Regions from separate parts of the Homo sapiens genome. Here all the other regions are linked to region 1. The links are contacts of gene promoters, found by promoter capture Hi-C in blood cells and fetal thymus (Javierre and others, 2016). All regions are on one chromosome and are shown on one strand. The core of a region is centred on a gene start or on the middle of the fragment in contact, and the rest is flanking DNA. Distances in the headings are between cores, read along the strand shown.

The links. Contacts are between HindIII fragments. The CHiCAGO score rates a contact against its expected background, and 5 or more counts as called.
Region 2: the fragment with the promoter of KLRB1 here is called in contact with the fragment with the promoter of KLRF1 in region 1 in 2 of 17 cell types (naive B cells and activated CD4 T cells); the score reaches 6.0 in naive B cells.
Region 3: a contact is called between a fragment that was not itself captured here and the fragment with the promoter of KLRF1 in region 1, in 1 of 17 cell types (activated CD4 T cells). The highest score is 7.2, in activated CD4 T cells.

What each region holds. Positions count from the first base shown.
Region 1 is chr12:9,825,239-9,829,488 of GRCh38, forward strand. It overlaps KLRF1 (killer cell lectin like receptor F1), which reads left to right and starts at 2,243. Exons shown (of 6, transcript NM_016523.3): 1 at 2,243-2,391. The coding sequence starts at 2,307. The HindIII fragment of the contact is 7,114 bases long and covers 1-3,760 here.
Region 2 is chr12:9,605,833-9,610,082 of GRCh38, forward strand. It overlaps KLRB1 (killer cell lectin like receptor B1), which reads right to left and starts at 2,084. Exons shown (of 6, transcript NM_002258.3): 1 at 1,923-2,084. The coding sequence starts at 2,007. The HindIII fragment of the contact is 4,730 bases long and covers 1-2,085 here.
Region 3 is chr12:9,998,015-10,002,264 of GRCh38, forward strand. CLEC1B (C-type lectin domain family 1 member B) reads right to left here and starts at 1,107. Exons shown (of 6, transcript NM_016509.4): 1 at 1,023-1,107; 2 at 268-366. The coding sequence starts at 1,086. It also overlaps a transcript of CLEC12A not described here. The HindIII fragment of the contact is 873 bases long and covers 1,254-2,126 here.

The DNA of each region.
Region 1 (4,250 bases), core at 993-3,492:
TCCAAAATAACAAGGTACTGGTAAAAAAAAAAAAAAAAGCAGACACATAGACCATTGGAACACAATGGTCTAATGCAGACACATAGACCACTGGACAGAAAGCCCAGAAATAGTGCTGCACAACTACACCCATCTGATCTTCAGCAAAGCTGACAAAAACAAGCCATGGGAAAAGGATTCCCTTTTTAATAAATGGTGCTGAGATAACTGGCTAGCCACATGCTGAAGATTGAAAGTGGACCCCTTCCTTATACCATATACAAAGCTCAACTCAAGATGGATAAAATACTTATGTCTAAAACCCCAAAATATAAAAAACCCTGGAAGATAACCTAGGAATTACCATCCTGGACACAGGAATGGGCAAATATTTCATGACAAAGATGCCAAAAGCAATTGCAACAAAAGTGAAACAAAACAAAACAAACAAACAAAATAATTAACTGTAAGAGCTTCTGCACAGCAAGAGAAACTATCAACAGAGTGAACAGATAATCTACAGAATGGGAGAAAATTTTTGCAGACTATGCATTTGACAAAGGTCTAATATCCAGCATCTGTAAGAAACTTAAACCAATCAACAAGCAAAAAATAAACAACCCCATTAAAAAGTGGACTAAGGACATGAACAGATACTTTTCGTGTTTTATTTATCAATCTTAATTTACTTCTTATCCATTTGGAGTGTCAAATAATGGCCAAAGAAATTGTAATTATAAATTAAAGAACAAAATTTAGCAAGTAAAAATAAACAAAAATAACACAAAAATGTATTATCCTTTTACTTTTGTCATTAAGCAACAAATATATTTCTGATAATTTGTCAAATATTTTCTCCTTGAATTAATAGTTTATCTTATTTAAAAGGGTATATTGTGTTTTTAAAATTTTATTTTAAATTTGGGAGTACATGTGCAAATTTGTTACATAGGTAAACTTGTGTAATGGGGGTTTGCTGTAAAGATTATTTCTTCACCCAGGTATTAACCCTAGTACCCATTAGTTATTTTTCCTGATCCTTTCCCTCTTCCCACCCTCTATCCTCCAGTAGGCACTAATCATTAGGGAAATGCAAATTAAAACCACAGTAAGATACCATCTCATACCAGTCGAATGGCTATTATTAAAAAGTCAAAAAATAACAGATGCTGATGAGGTAGTGGAGAAAAGGGTTCACTTATACACCTTTGATGGGAGTGTAAATTAGTTCAACCATTATGAAAGATAGCATGGTGATTCCTTAAAGACCTAAAACCAGAAATTTGACCCAGCAATCCCATTACTGGTATATACCCAAAGGAATATAAATCTATCATAAAGACACATGCATGCATCTGTTCATGGCAGCACTGTTGACAATAGCAAAGACATGCAATCAACCTAAATGCCCATCAATGGTAGACTGGATAAAGAAAATGTGATACACATATACAAAGGAATACTATGCAGCTATAAAAAAGAATGAGATGATGTCCATTGCAGGAACATAGATGAAGCTAGAGGCCGTTACCCTTAACAAACTAATGGAGGAACAGAAAACCAAATACCACATGTTCTCACTAATAATTGGGATCTAAATGATGAGAACACATGTACACATAGAGGAGAATGACAGACACCGGAGCCTACTTGAAGGTGGAGGGTGAGAGGAGGGGCAGGATCAGAAAAACATAACTATGTAGTACTAGTCTGAATACCTGGGTGATGAAATAATATGTACAACAAACCCCTGTGACATGATTTTACCTATATAACAAACCTACACATGTAGCCCTGAACCTAAAAGTTAAAAAAAATCAAATTATACTGTTAAATTATTAGCATGATTTATAAACAATATTGTTTTAGGATAAAGAATTTAATTGCTTGGCAATTGCAAATTATTAAATTAAATATCAATATGTTAGGGAGGCTAATTCAAATGATATAAATATTTAGGCTATAACAAAAGGCAGCTATATATTATTAACCTCACCTCAAAAAGGGGCATAATTTCCATTCCCTTGACTTTAAGGGTAAATTAAGAGAAATTTGTAAAGCACTCAAAAGAATATTCAATTCAATATGTGGTGGACAGTTGAGAAATTATGTGTTATCTATGTCATGGGAAAGCAACTTTTAAAAAGAAAACATTTCCTCTGAGGTTTTCACAAATAAGTGAAACTGTGAACCCTCATATGTACTGTGAAAGGACAATTTGAGGAGCATCTCTGATTAGCAGCAGATTTATTATTCTTTCCTCATTTCATGTTATACTTAATAAAACAAAACATACCTGTATACACACACATTCACTCACATTGAAGATGCAAGATGAAGAAAGATACATGACATTGAATGTACAGTCAAAGAAAAGGAGTTCTGCCCAAACATCTCAACTTACATTTAAAGGTATGGAATTTAATTTCATTTTTTCAATTGGTGTGAATTAACATGGTAGTTTCCCGTATCCTGTTCCATTGTGTTATTGGACTGTTTCAGTATTTGGGTGCTTTTCTTTCTCCGTCTCTGTATCTCTCTCACCTGTCCTCTCTTTCAATATTAATAATGATTTAAAAATAACAACCTCTCTTACCATTTAAGAAACACCAGTTTCCGGCACTATACAGAATGTTTTATCTATGTTCCTTCATTTAATCTTACAAATTTACTATGAGATAATCTCTCTCTCTCCCATTTATCAATGTGGAACTAACACTTACTTGTAATATTTTGTCTGATATAATTTCTTAAGGACATTCTCTGAGGAAATATGCATACTCAATTAAAATTAATAATTTCAAATTAGTGAATATTTGCTGCCATTCACCTCCTTATCATTCATAGAATATGGTGTTTTAATGCTATTTTTTTTTTTTGAGACGGAGTTTCACTGTTGTTGCCCAGGCTGGAGTGCAATGGCATGATCTCGGCTCACTGCAACCTCTGCCTCCCAGGTTCAAGCAATTCTCCTGCCTCAGCCTCCTGAGTAGCTGAGATTATAGGTGCCCGCCACCATGCCTGGCTAATTTTTTGCGTTTTTAGTAGAGATGGGGTTTTACCATGTTGGCCAGGCTGGTCTTGAACTCCTGACCTCAGGTGATCCACCCACCTGAGTCTTCCAAAGTGTTGGGATTATAGGCATGAGCCACCGCGCCCAGCCTTTAATACTAATTTTTAATTCAACTTCTCAAAAACTTTATGCTTTTCACCAAGTTGACTCAAAATAAAGTTTATACACCAGCAATCAACATTTTAATTTGCTACTTCAAGCATACCCTCCATACACAATGCAATTCCATCATGCCACCTTAATGTGATTTGGCAAAAGAGATAAGCAGAAATTAAAGACACAAATAATCACAGTTATAGAGACTGTCTGTTCTGTTCTGTTGCTTTCTAAATATTTCTCTTTTAATAACTTCACCCATGAAAATTTTACTTATCTCTTGAGTCCTTCCACAAGTATCATCCATCAGTGATTCATCTTAGAGTTACATACGTGCTATGTATAAGAAATTTATTGCCTCTTCCATGTGAATTTTTAGATTCCCATATTTTCAAGTCTTTACTTCCTACACTCAATTTTTATTTCATTTTTGGAAATTAGAGATATTAAACCTGAAAGACTACAACATGTAGTGACTTCTCTGCAGACTTTTTTCCACACTCTGTTCATAAATGTCTCTCTGAAGCAAAAATGTGCAGATTTTCGGCTCCCAGATATTTAAGTGACACATACTAATATTTATGTCTTGTACCTTTAGCTAATATTTATTAAAGCTTGAGGTAAGACGTATTTTATGTGAATTAGATTGACAATGTGAGCCTTGGGGTTATGATGTTCATTCATTTAACTTAATTTTGTGATGACATATTTGTAAATCTTTTCTCATATATTGAAAAACCTTTGTTGCCAGTGATAGTAAGAAATTACATAATTGCTCTATCCCACTATACATATGTAGTAGTTTCAGAATCACTATAGAAATAATATTATAATAATAGTTACTTAAAACAGATTAAAATGTTTTGCGGTTTTAAAAAATCCTTAAGATATATTCCATTGAGCATGCACAGTTAAATGTTTTAAAATCACTTTAAGTAATTCCTCTCTCTATAGTGAAGACACTAACAATACCTAGTTAGATTCCTTTTCTTCATTTTTTATGGATTTTTTTTCATTTTTGTTTAACTTACTTTATAGTAGCATAAAACATTTACATATTTTCAGTCAAACTTATATAATGAGGGGCCAAGTGTGGTGGCTC
Region 2 (4,250 bases), core at 834-3,333, 220 kb before region 1:
ATGACATTTTATAGGATAATTATTACAATCCAAGTAGAAAAAATTTCTGCATCCATTGGTTTGGGATCATAGCAACATTTGGGAAGAGTCTCACTACCTCTATATTCATTTTCTGACAAAAGCCCACTTTCCACCTTTTGCTAGATATGAATAGAGGAAAAGAAAGACTTACTCTTTTCTTTAAAAAAAAATGTTACTCAACCAAATCCTCCCTATAGTTATTAGAACCCTCTGATTTCCTCTACTCTTATGTGAAAATTATACTGAAACTTAATTGACGGCTCTAAGACTTTCTTCTTGACTTAAAACTTTGAGAATTCAATAGTTTAAAACTTAAACAGTCTTAAAACAGCACAAGTCAAATGCTTGGCATGACATGGAATGAATATCAGATTGGTAAACAATTGTAATATTATCAATGATAGTAAATTCAGTTAGATATCAGAAAATAATAATGTGTCATAATAATTTCATGCTGATTTTCTGCCTCAGTTTCTAGTTTCTTCCCATCCATCCACAGGCCATGCTATCCATCATGTGTTACCTCACATTGGTGTTCCCCGCTTCTTTCACTCAGAATGCTAACTCTTCAGAGACACAGGAAAGTGCCAGTTTCAACAAATGGTAAGTAGGTTCGTTACTGATATGCTCGAGTATTTTTGTGGCTTGTCTCTTTCTAAGCTGTGATACTTTTCAAACTAGAAACTATCAGGTAGTAATGATATTCAAATCTTTGATCTTGAATATGATTTTTTTTCCAGAAAGTGTTCCCCTCTCTTGAGAGAGTGAAGTATGTTACTCATTAAGCCTACACTTTATATATATATATATAAAATATATAAAATATATGTATAAAAAGTATATATATATATATAAAATATATAAAATATATGTATAAAAAGTATATATATATATATATATATATATATTTTTTTTTTTTTTTTGAGATAGTCTTGCTGTGTCACCCAGGCTGGAGTACAGTGGCACAATTACAGCTCACTGCAGCCTTGATCTCTTGGGCTCAAGCAATCCTCTCACCTCAGCCTCCCGAGTAGCTAGGACCACAGGCACGTGCCCCACACTTGGCTATTTTTTTGTATTGTTTGTAGAGATGAGGTTTTGCCACATTGCCCAGGCTGGCCTTAAACTCCTGGACTCAAGCAAATCACCTTAGCCTACCAAAGTGTTGGGATTACAGGCATGAGCCACTGCAACTGGCCTACACGTTGTATTCTGAAAGGAATATTATGGATGAAAATGCACTGGGACTTAATCATAGTATTGATATTTTGTAGAGGAATTTGGAATAACGTAGGTTGTTATTACAGCAAGTTTGCAATGTGTCTTAAATATTCCTTAGTTCATACATGTAAAATATTTTTCCTTCCTTCCTTCCATCCTTCCTTCCTTCCTCCTTCTCTTTTTCTTTCTTTCCTTTCCTTTCTCTCTCTTTCTTTTTCTTTCTCTCCTTTCTTTCTTTCTTCTTTTCTTTCTCTTTCTTTCCTTTCTTTCTTTCTTTCTTCCTTTCTTTCTTTCTTTCTTTCTTTCTTTCTTTCTTTCTTTCTTTCTTTCTTTTCTTTCTTTCTTTCTTTCTTCCTTCTTTCCATCCCTGTAGAGCAGGGGTAACCAATAGGCAGTGTGCCCAGGGTAGCCTAAAGTGTTCAGAGTCTTTTAACCAAGGCTCAGTAAGACAAGTGATGTTTGCTTTTCATGCTAACTTGATTGAAAAAAATAAATGTATGAGGTTTAAATTTTTTTTCCCAAAGTTGTGATTATCTACAGGCAAGCCATGCAACACCCGTTAAACATTAATATAAAACTACTGCTCATCTTTAAAGCAATGATTTAAAGCCATAAATGTAACAGGAAGATCTAATTCTGGAAGACATACAAATGCCGAAAGGAAAATTAAAGCCACTTACCCCGAGGAAGAGATGAAGGTGAAGAACTTTCTGGGCCTGAGTCTGTGGGTAAGTTTAACTCAGCATATATTGCTTGTTGGTCCATGGCAGACAGAGGAAGGTGGCATTAAACTTGTGTGTAAGAACAAACTCTCAATTCTGTGAGGCAAAATCAGCAAAAGGAAGCTTTCTGCCTGCAGTACTTTGTTGTCTCTCTTTTGTCCCCACCCACATACACTTTTTGTTGGTGGTTATCTCCATAAATTACTGAGACAATCCACTGACTGCATGTTCATTATACCTAGCTATGTAATATCTACTTTCCTTAATTAACTGGCCTGTTGTTTGAGAAAATTCTGGGAGGCTCATTTGTTCTTGTTTTTCTAACCATCCCTTTTGTGTTCCTCTCTCAGGGCCAGGACCAGAGTGAAGCAAATGAGGCATAGCCTGGGGTTCCAATTTAAGGGGCCCCCAACAAAACTCACTAATTAACAGAAATAATATTTAGCACAATTTTGTAAAAGTAAAAATTAATGCAAAAAAGTCCATAATGCTATTCAAAGGCTCTAAAATCTTCCTGAAATATCTGTGCTCCAAAGAAAGTTGTGAAATGTGAAAAATGGAAACATAAATGTGAGAAAGCCCCCTGAATAACACAACAGAAAAAGCAATGTGCTAAAGATCAGTAGCCTACTGTTAGCTTAGCTCTAAAGGCACTCTTGGATATGATAGCATTTTCACATAAGTAAAAGTATTTGGAAACTGCCAGAATTGTAGGAAGTGGAGTATATGGAATTTTTTATCTCTTTGAAAGACTTTCTTTTTTTTTCAAGGTGATTATAGTATGTGTCTACTTTTTTTTTTTTACCTTTTTTTATTATTATTATACTTTAAGTTCACAATGTACAGGTTTGTTACATATGTATACATGTGCCATGTTGGTGTGCTGCACCCGTTAACTTGTCATTTACATTAGGTATATCTCCTAATGCTATCCCTCCCCCCTCCCCCCACCCCACGACAGGCCCCGGTGTGTGGTGTTCCCCTCCCTGTGTCCAAATATTCTCATTGTTCAATTCCAACCTATGAGTGAGAACATGCGGTGTTTGGTTTTCTGTCCTTGCAATAGTTTGCTCAGAATGATGGTTTCCAGCTTCATCCATGTCCCTACAAAGGACATGAACTCATCCTTTTTTATGGCTGCATACTATTCCATGGTGCATATGTGCCATATATTCTTAATCCAGTCTATCATTGATAGACATTTGGGATGGTTCACGAGTCTTTGCTATTGTGAATAGTGCCACAATAAACATATGTGTGCATGTGTCTTTATAGCAGCGTGATTTATAATCCTTTGGGTATATACCCAGTAATGAGATGGCTGGGTCAAATTCTAGTTCTAGTCCCTCGAGGAATCGCCACACTGTCTTCCACAATGGTTGAACTAGTTTAGAGTCCCACCAACAGTGTAAAAGTGTTCCTATTTCTCCACATCCTCTCCAGCACCTGTTTTTTCCTGACTTTTTAATGACTGTCATTCTAACTGGTGTGAGATGGTATCTCATTGTGGTTTAGATTTGCATTTCTCTGATGGCCAGTGATGATGAGCATTTTTTCATGTGTCTGTTGCCTGCATAAATGTTTTCTTTTGAGAAGTGTCTGTTCATATCCTTTGCCCATTTTTTGATGGGGTTGGTTGATTTTTTCTTGTAAATTTATGTAAGTTCTTTGTAGATTCTGGATATTAGCCGTTTGTCAGATGGGTAGATTGTAAAAATTTTCTCCCATTCTGTAGGTTGTCTGTTCACTCTGATGGTAGTTTCTTTTGCTGTGCAGAAGCTCTTTAATTTAGTTAGATCCCATTGGTCAATTTTGGCTTTTGTTGCCATTGTTATTGGTGTTTTAGTCATGAAGTCCTTCCCATGCCTGTTGCCTGAATGGTATTGCCTAGGTTTTCTTCTAGGGTTTTTATGGTTTTAGATCTAACATTTAAGTTTTTAATCCATCTTGAATTAATTTTTTATAAGGTGTAAGGAAGGGATCCAGTTTCAGCTTTCTATATATGGCTAGCCAGTTTTCCCAGCACCATTTATTAAATAGGGAATCCTTTCCCCATTTCTCGTTTTTGTCAGATTTGTCAAAGATCAGATGGTTGTAGATATGTGGTATTATTTCCGGGGGCTCTGTTCTGTTCCATTGGTCTATATCTCTGTTTTGGTACCAGTACCATGTTGTTTTGGTTGCTGTTGCCTTGGAGTATAGTTTGAAGTCAGGTAGCGTGATGCCTCCAGCTTTGTTCTTTTGACTTAGGTTTGTCTTGGCAATGTGGGACCTTTTTTGGTTCCA
Region 3 (4,250 bases), core at 440-2,939, 170 kb after region 1:
TTTGGATCCACACTGAGGAGGGTCTTAAAGGCCAGTAGTACATTCTTAAAAATAACTTTTCATTAGTTAAAATCTTAAAATCTTATTTTAATCACAAGGAAACAGTCAGTGTTCTCCTTTATTGAGATTCTCTTGGCAACTATCTGTAGGACAACTGTAGAAGTGATAAACAGACAAATAGCGACCATTGAGAAGCTTAGTGGGATATGCCATGACCCTTCAGTATTACCTTCCTCCAGTCAAATTTCTGGCAGAGTCAACACTTACACCAAATCCCCAGAGCCACCAGCCCGACAACCATCCCCACGCACAGGATCAGCAGAATCAAAGCCATCACACGCCACCAGGAGGAGGATGCAGAGCCAACTGTAGGCATATAATAAAGACATCAAGGAGCAGGCAGTATGGGTTAGCTATGGGGAAGGCTCACCCCTGCCCCTGCCCCTGCCTTCTCAGGGTCCTCCAAGTAATAGAAAGAGCTTTGCTGGCAGATCTCACCTGTGTTCTCCTCATGATCATCAACAATAGGCATGGCCCACCCCTATACCATACATCCATTCTCATCTCCAATGCACTTTACCTCTCCAAGCTGAAATATTACTTGCTGTTAAGGCCTGATGTGTTTGTATTTTTTGTTTTGTTTTGTTTTGTTTTGTTTTGTTTTATGCTCACCCATGCCATAAATAATTGCTTTAATAAACAGCAAATGAAGAATCACACTCATTTGCTCACATATAGAAAATGAAATTTCCACTCTTTTCCGTTATCCCCTTGACTTCTATGCCCTCGAGTATTAAACGCTCAGAATCTTAATGCAATTTTCCCTGCACATATATTGGATGTTTGTAATCTAAATAGGTCTGTATGAGCTTATGAAAACACTACTCAAATGCTTTAGAGCATTAACATCATTCAAGAAAAAGAAATTAAACTATATATATTATCAATAGTAGAAAAAGAAAGAATTGAATCAACTCATTTTTTAAATTAATTTCCAAATTATTGGCTCTGAGCATTCTTACCGGAGATGAGAGCTGGTTTCCGAGTTTTAATATTTAAGGTGATGTATCCATCTTCATCCTGCATGGCTTCCCGAGTACTGCAACTGAGCTCAGAGTTCAATGACTTTGCAAAATGTAGTTTCCAACTTTACAATTTCAGTATCTGTCAGTTTATGATCTTCCTGTCTTTAGTAGGGTAGAACCATGTGAGATGGGACACATTTGTTTTCCTTTGCTTATTGTTTTCCAGGAAGCTTCTTCATAGCTGCTCAGAGATACATGGACCTTGAACACAAAAACACAAAAATAATAATAACTTGTGGTAAAGGAGTAGATAAGGTATTTGCTTCCTGCTTTTTTTTTATCTTCAACACTAAATAAAGGGACATTCCATCATGTGCATCCTTTCTAAGAACAAAAGTTCATGCTTTATCTTAGCCCTAGCTTAGTCTAAATTACATTGCTCAAATGAGAGATTTCTGCTGAAAATTCATGGATATAGCTCACCAGCAGATATATAGTTTATCTCATTGTGAGAAGCAAGTGTAATATAATTGGATCTGATAGGGGCTAAATTAGCTGTTTCATAGTCTTGTGTTGGAAGAGATCATTCCTGATTATGACCTAGAATTTACACAACTTCTTGCATATTTCATACTTTTTTTTATTTGAAGGATCCACATGAGGCAGGCCTGATATTGCTTAGATTTAGGTATTGAAGGAAAACTATCAAATCAAGTAAAATAATACAGAGTTGGTGACTTGCTGCATTGTTCTTTAGTAGTGTTTGTGCTTTAAAGTGAGTTTCCTGGAATGGAAGAATTTTGATTTGATGAAATCACTTCATTTCAAGTACAGCTGTGCTTAGATGAATATTTGAGACTGAATGGTTCCTAGCACCTTTTCATCACAATATAATATGTATTGCACACACTTAACTTTATGAAATGGGCTTTTACATTATTTTAGCTTGCACTGAAAGTAGTTGTAAGAACAGCCATACAAAGCTAGCTGATGCATTTATTATAGGAATATTGGGGAGGATGTTGTCTATTTTGCCATAGGGTAACTCTTACATAGTTTTATGGCAGATTTTTATTTTTGTTAAATCACCATGACTAGCAAAGCTTTAAGTAGTAGGCATTTACCTTATAAATAATTTGAATTCTATTTTTCTTTACTTAGCAGAGTGTTAGACTTTTCAATATAGTGATTATGTGGGCTGCAGTAGCAGATATTTTGTTTATTAACATGCCCTTTGGCATAGCCCGTAGATTTTTTCTCCCCTGCTATCTCCTTCACTCTGAATTTCTTGTCAATTCACTTAAAATTATCTTTCATTCTAAATTTCTTTCTCTATACTCTTCAAATTATTTTGAGAATGAGGTGAAGAATAAGCATAACACGTATAAAAGACATTCCCTGATTTTGGAAAGCCAAACTTAGTATGATTCAAATATTTTTACCAAAACTAATTCTTAATTAAAAAAAAACACATTTGAAATAAATGCCAAATTTTAAGAAAAGACTAAAAATTTTTAAAAAACATTAAATCCCAACACCATTTTTGTTGCTGTGTTTCTTATCTCAGTTAAAATATTCAGGGGTTCCCAATCATAAGCTGGGTAAATTCAGTCACTTACCATTCATCTACCACTGCTTCTGTTCTCATAACTTCTGTTTCAGCTAAAAGGGATTCTTCGCTCTCCCATCATTTATCCTCAGGCTTTTCTGGAAGATTGGGGTTGGAATGGGGTTTGATCCTCCCTCTCTTCCTTCCTTTCTACATCTACTCATCAGCAAGTCCTGAGGCTATTCTGTCACAGTAACCCCTGTCTTTCACGTTCTTTTGGTCACTGCTTTCCTTCAGTGTTTTGTTACCTAAAATATACAGAAACACTAAAAAATAATCGAATAAATAACTGTGACAAAGTAACAGAGAGAAAAGAAAATGTGTGGAGGTTATAGTACAAATGACACTTTTCCAATAAAGCTTTACTCTGTTCTCTTAGGTACCAAACAGGTACATATGAAAACTTAATTTGTTACATTAAATCAGATATGTAAAGGTAAGATCCAAGGACATTGAGACAATTTTTAAATTATTGTAAACATTTTTTGTTTATTAACAAAAACTTTAAGATGGTATTAAAGAGAACAATTAGATTGCTTTGTTGAGGTTTCCACATTCTCTAGGACTTGAGCAGCTGATTTCATTATAAAACATGTCCCATGTATTTTTGTAAACCACCAGGAATGTGCCAGGATTAGTTCTTGATCCTTTAATGCTTAGAACTGCATATTTAATGCCTGAAGTAGGTTAACACTCCGCCTTTGAAGATATTCCTTTCCTATATCTCAGGCTCTGGACTTTCCATTGCTTCATTCCTCTTTCTCATTGTAATTTAACCTTGCTTTTTGGATCTTTGATCATTCCAGCCACAGTCTGAGAGTCTTATATCTTATCTGTGTTCCACAAAATATACGTTTGCCTTTCTGTGTATCCCCCCTCACATGACTTTGTGGTGTTAGAAGCAAGCTGAGCGAAGACAGAGACTCTCAGGGCCAAAGGAACTAGCCCTTGATAACATTGAGTTCTAATTTTGCTCCCTCCCCACATTCTATAAATGTAAGTTGAGTTACTCAGCAAAAATTAAGCAGAGAACTGCAGGAAAGAGAGATAGATATCACAAATGCTTCTTTTCCTTTTCCCAAATCCAGAGTCTTTGCTAGTTACCTTTTAATCACCCTCCAAGTCCCGTTATTAGCTTATTTTATTTCTGCTTCAATATTTTAACCTTGCTTGAATATCTTATTCTCTTCTCCTTTTCTTCACTAAGGAAACTATATACAGCTAAACAAAATCTTTTTTTTTTTTTTTTGAGACTGAGTCTTGCTCTGTCGTCCAGGCTGGAGTGCAGTGGCGCCATCTTGGCTCACTGCAAGCTCCGCCTCCTGGGTTCACGCCGTTCTCCTGCCTCAGCCTCCCGAGTAGCTGGGAGTACAGGCGCCCACCACCACGCCTGGCTAATTTTTTTTGTATTTTTAGTAGAGACGCGGTTTCACCGTGTTAGTCAGGATGGTCTTGATCTCCTGACCTCGTGATCCACCCGCCTCGGCCTCCCAAAGTGCTGGGATTACAGGCTTTAGCTACCGCGCCTGGCCTAAAAAAATTCTTTATTCCAAATTTCCTGATGAAATTGAATTTAAAATAAAACCTTTTATTCATTCAATATTTTACAGATTAAG